2 separate regions of the Homo sapiens genome follow, and region 1 is linked to region 2. Evidence: promoter capture Hi-C in human tissues and cell types (Jung and others, 2019). All regions are on one chromosome and are shown on one strand. The core of a region is centred on a gene start or on the middle of the fragment in contact, and the rest is flanking DNA. Distances in the headings are between cores, read along the strand shown.

The links. The method cuts DNA at HindIII sites, captures the fragments that hold promoters and counts their contacts. A contact is called where the count stands out against the background at its distance.
Region 1: a contact is called between a fragment that was not itself captured here and the fragment with the promoter of FUT4 in region 2, in 1 of the 25 tissues and cell types used here (H1 embryonic stem cells).

What each region holds. Positions count from the first base shown.
Region 1 is chr11:94,576,373-94,579,072 of GRCh38, forward strand. PIWIL4 (piwi like RNA-mediated gene silencing 4) reads left to right here. Exons shown (of 20, transcript NM_152431.3): 4 at 906-1,120. The region is part of intron 4 of PIWIL4-AS1 (PIWIL4 antisense RNA 1); the gene reads right to left. Among named protein-coding and RNA genes, the nearest start is that of PIWIL4, 10 kb to the left of the region's middle. The HindIII fragment of the contact is 5,000 bases long and covers 1-2,700 here.
Region 2 is chr11:94,542,665-94,545,364 of GRCh38, forward strand. FUT4 (fucosyltransferase 4) reads left to right here and starts at 1,257. Exons shown (of 1, transcript NM_002033.4): 1 at 1,257-2,700. The coding sequence starts at 1,470. It overlaps PIWIL4-AS1 (PIWIL4 antisense RNA 1), which reads right to left. Exons shown (of 5, transcript NR_135093.1): 5 at 2,668-2,700. RefSeq lists a silencer at 1,445-2,014. The HindIII fragment of the contact is 7,218 bases long and covers 1-2,700 here.

The DNA.
Region 1 (2,700 bases), core at 201-2,700, 34 kb after region 2:
ATCCACCCGCCTTGGCCTCCCAAACTGCTGAGATTACAGGTGTGAGCCACCGTGCCCAGCCTCTATATCATTCTTTTCTATAAGACCAAAACTGGATGATTCTCTGTAAGGGGAAGTGAGAAGAACCTCCTTTGTACCCTCCTGGATTCTACCCTGGGGGGAGCTTACACCATCCTGATCACTAACTGACTATATCGTGGCCATCTCTGATTTTGTCCTATAGACTTTTAAGATGTGAATAAAAATGTCTGTAAGGGGCTGGAAGTCCCGGAAGCACACATGGCCTCCATGTGTCTGCAGAAAACAGAAGCCCAGAAACCTTGTCTGTTTTCACGTCGGAAAAATGACAGTTCCTTCCTCTCTCCGCAGCCTTCCCCTTAATCTCTGAGGGTCTTCTCTGAGATTGTTTGGTCTAACCACTGATATAACTTTTTCAGAATTTTCAGAAATATGATTAACTTTTGATTATCTGGATTTCCCAGAGGTTGGGGGTTGTATATTCATAGTAAGAACCAGACTGTTTCTTTATGAGAGCAGTATAATTTCAGAGCAGCATCTGAAAATATTACTTGAGCCGATTTGAATTGCAGAGAATGAGAGCGGGAAGGCAAGCTTTGAAAGGTGTCCTGGAATGGTTGAGTTCAGATGCTTCTCGTCTCACAAGGACAGGAATGTCAGTGTCTGCTCGTATGTTCTTAAGAGGCCTGTTTCATGCATGATCCCATTTTAGCTCCCAAAGGTGTTATTAGGCTGCAAGTTTTAGGATTTATCCTGTGTCACTGTGCAAAAATCCTTGCTTTAAAGCAACTACTATGCATAGGCAAATACATTTTTAAATGGTGTGATTAATATTAACATGATGTGATTTCCTGATTAAAAAATTGTTTTTTGTTTGTCTTCTTCAGGTTCCAGTGGAATACCTGTGAAACTGGTTACAAACCTCTTTAACTTAGATTTTCCCCAAGACTGGCAGCTATACCAGTACCATGTGACATATATTCCAGATTTAGCATCTAGAAGGCTGAGAATTGCTTTACTTTATAGTCATAGTGAACTTTCCAACAAAGCAAAAGCATTCGACGGTGCCATCCTTTTTCTGTCACAAAAGCTAGAAGAAAAGGTATAGTATGATTAGTTTTTTTACTGTATATGTGGGTGTGTGTTTATTATATGTGTATACACACACACATATATATGCATATGCAAGGAGATTCCAAAAGGTTTGTGGAAAAATAGAATTAAAAGGTAAGAATTTAAAAAACTACCTTTATTTCTTACCAAGAGTTTTACCAAGGTCAAGACACTTTTATAAGCAATTATATCAGCCATTTAGTCCATCCCTAGAGAACTAAGGGTCCTGGGAATTTAACCACATCAGTGCAGTCTTTTTTAGCTTATTAACGAAAGAAAAATGGGTGCCCTTTACATTGTTTTATATTTTAAGATTATAAAACAAAAAAAGTCAGAAGGAGCCAAATCAGCAGTAAAGTGTATGCCTAATGATTTCCCATTGAAACTTTTGCAAACTTACCCTTGTTTGTTGAGAAGAATGAGTAGAAGCATTGTTGTGGTGCTTTCCAGGGAAGCTTTCCTGGCCATTTTTCTGCTCAAGCTTTGGCAAAGTTTCTCAAAACACTTTCATAATAAGCGGATGTTACCATTCTTTGGCCCTCCAGAAAGTCAACAAGCAGAATGCCTGGAGCATCTCAAGAAACTATTGCCATGACCTTTGCTCTTGATGGGTTGGCTTTTCCTTTGACTGGACCACTTCCACCTCTCGGTAGTGATTGCTCTGATTGTGCTTTGTCTTCAGGATCGTACTGGTAAAGCCAGGTTTCATCTCCTCTTACAATTTTTTGAAGAAATGCTTCAGGATCTTAATACCATTTATTTAAAATTTTTATTGACGGCTCTGCTCTTATCTGCAGCCGATCTGAATGCAATGAATTTGGCAAGCGTTGAATGGAAAGTTTGCTCAACTTTAATTTTTTAGTCAGAATTGTATAAGCTAAACAAATTGAGATGTCTGTGGTGTTGGCTATTGTTTCTGCTATTAATCTTTGGTCTTCTCAATTAGGGCATGAACAAGATGAATTTTTTTTCCTTGCAAATCTGTATAGATGGTCTGCAGCAGGCTTCATCTTCAACATTGTCTCATCCCTTCTTAAGATGAGTTATCCATTCGTAAACTGCTGATTTCTTTGGGGCATTGTTCCCATAAACTTTTCATTATACATCAATGATTTTGCCATTCTTCTACCCAAGTATCGCCAAAATTTGATGTCTGTTCTGGCTTCAATCATAGCAGAATTCATATTGCTCTGACAGGGTCTCTGTTCAAATTGAGGTCTTATTCTTAGTGTCTCACACTGGATCCTGTTAGTATGAGTTTATTTGGGTGCAAAATTTTTGAAATCCATGCATAGTTTTTTCATAATACATATTTTCCATGAACTTTTTGAGGTCTCCTCATATATACTTATATATTTAAGAGATTAGTTGATTTTCATGACAGTTGGAATGAGTGAATCACTCCTTTCCTTTTTCCTGTTCCCTTGCCTGAGAGCTAAAAAAAGACTTCCTAATTAAGATTTCACTAGTAATTGATTTCTTAATTATGAAGCTGGTGGTCTGGTATTTTTAAAATAAGAGCTGTAAGTGTCCTTGAAATTGGCACCTTAAAAAATAATTCCCAAAGTA
Region 2 (2,700 bases), core at 7-2,506:
CGCCCAGGCTGGAGTGCAGTGGCGCGATCTGGGCTCACTGCAAGCTCCGCCTCCTGGGTTGACGCCATTCTCCTGCCTCAGCTTCCCGAGTAGCTGGGACTACAGGCGCCCGCCACCAAGCCTGGCTAATTTTTTTTTATTTTTAGTGGAGACAGAGTTTCACCGTGTTAGCCAGGATGGTCTCGATCTCCTGACCTCGGGATCCGCCCGCCTCGGCCTCCCAAAGTGCTGGGAGTATAGGCGTGAGCCACCGCGCCTGGCCTATACTTGATTTTTAATGAAAACATTCTTAAATTCATATGGCTAACGCAAATTTATTTTCTGTAGGCATAACATCAAAAACACCTGGCAGGATTGCCCCATTCCCAGCACTGTCTATTTCTCCCCTAGTATCAGTGGGACTCCACTGATGCACAGCTGTGATCTACTAAAACTTCTCTCAAAACTTTCTCCTCTCCTTAGGTCAGCAGCCCCGCCCCTGATCTATTTGGAAATCCCCTGAATAAAAGTTGAATATCATAAACCAAAGCGAACACCCAGAAATTCAAATTCAACCCGTAGGTAAAAAATTTCTCAAGTGACTGTAGACGTAGATGTCTCCAGTGTCGCCTAATAAGGTAGAAGAGGCCAGTGCGATACTGTCTTTACACCCTTAACTTGGGTGCTAGAATATTTATCTTCGTCATCATTTTATCATCCAAACTATTTTGCATAACTTTCATGGGTGCAGAAAATGTTTTTTAAGTGCTTGGTAAAATTAATAGTGATATTCATTCATTCATCTCACTGAACAGGCAATAAATTCCTTGACGACAAGGGCCTTGGGGGGGTCACATCTTCATCTTTGGTTTATGAGTCCTGTGCGTCTTGGTACAAGCAATACTACTATGAGCCGGCAAGTCAGACTTATTTGGTAGGGGACCAAAGGAAAGAACATGTTTTGATTGCTAAGAAAACATTTTGTTCTCTATCCTTTACTGGGCTGGCAGGCAAAGGAAATGTTCTTATGAGCACTCACATTGAAAACTTAAGTTCTTCACCAAATGCAGAGACTCTGAAGGCCACGCCGCTGCGGGCTGCCTCCACAATTCGACCGTCTCGGCGGGCCACGAGATCCTGGCCACGGATGCGGTGGCCGCGCCTCTGCTCGCACGTTCCCCCGGCCTCTGGACTCCCTCCCTCCCTCAATCCCTCCCTCCGGCGGGCGTCGCTGGCGGGTGGCTAGGCCCAACGGCAGGAAGCCGACGCTATCCTCCGTTCCGCGGCGCCGGGTCCGCCTTCCGTCTGTTCTAGGGCCTGCTCCTGCGCGGCAGCTGCTTTAGAAGGTCTCGAGCCTCCTGTACCTTCCCAGGGATGAACCGGGCCTTCCCTCTGGAAGGCGAGGGTTCGGGCCACAGTGAGCGAGGGCCAGGGCGGTGGGCGCGCGCAGAGGGAAACCGGATCAGTTGAGAGAGAATCAAGAGTAGCGGATGAGGCGCTTGTGGGGCGCGGCCCGGAAGCCCTCGGGCGCGGGCTGGGAGAAGGAGTGGGCGGAGGCGCCGCAGGAGGCTCCCGGGGCCTGGTCGGGCCGGCTGGGCCCCGGGCGCAGTGGAAGAAAGGGACGGGCGGTGCCCGGTTGGGCGTCCTGGCCAGCTCACCTTGCCCTGGCGGCTCGCCCCGCCCGGCACTTGGGAGGAGCAGGGCAGGGCCCGCGGCCTTTGCATTCTGGGACCGCCCCCTTCCATTCCCGGGCCAGCGGCGAGCGGCAGCGACGGCTGGAGCCGCAGCTACAGCATGAGAGCCGGTGCCGCTCCTCCACGCCTGCGGACGCGTGGCGAGCGGAGGCAGCGCTGCCTGTTCGCGCCATGGGGGCACCGTGGGGCTCGCCGACGGCGGCGGCGGGCGGGCGGCGCGGGTGGCGCCGAGGCCGGGGGCTGCCATGGACCGTCTGTGTGCTGGCGGCCGCCGGCTTGACGTGTACGGCGCTGATCACCTACGCTTGCTGGGGGCAGCTGCCGCCGCTGCCCTGGGCGTCGCCAACCCCGTCGCGACCGGTGGGCGTGCTGCTGTGGTGGGAGCCCTTCGGGGGGCGCGATAGCGCCCCGAGGCCGCCCCCTGACTGCCGGCTGCGCTTCAACATCAGCGGCTGCCGCCTGCTCACCGACCGCGCGTCCTACGGAGAGGCTCAGGCCGTGCTTTTCCACCACCGCGACCTCGTGAAGGGGCCCCCCGACTGGCCCCCGCCCTGGGGCATCCAGGCGCACACTGCCGAGGAGGTGGATCTGCGCGTGTTGGACTACGAGGAGGCAGCGGCGGCGGCAGAAGCCCTGGCGACCTCCAGCCCCAGGCCCCCGGGCCAGCGCTGGGTTTGGATGAACTTCGAGTCGCCCTCGCACTCCCCGGGGCTGCGAAGCCTGGCAAGTAACCTCTTCAACTGGACGCTCTCCTACCGGGCGGACTCGGACGTCTTTGTGCCTTATGGCTACCTCTACCCCAGAAGCCACCCCGGCGACCCGCCCTCAGGCCTGGCCCCGCCACTGTCCAGGAAACAGGGGCTGGTGGCATGGGTGGTGAGCCACTGGGACGAGCGCCAGGCCCGGGTCCGCTACTACCACCAACTGAGCCAACATGTGACCGTGGACGTGTTCGGCCGGGGCGGGCCGGGGCAGCCGGTGCCCGAAATTGGGCTCCTGCACACAGTGGCCCGCTACAAGTTCTACC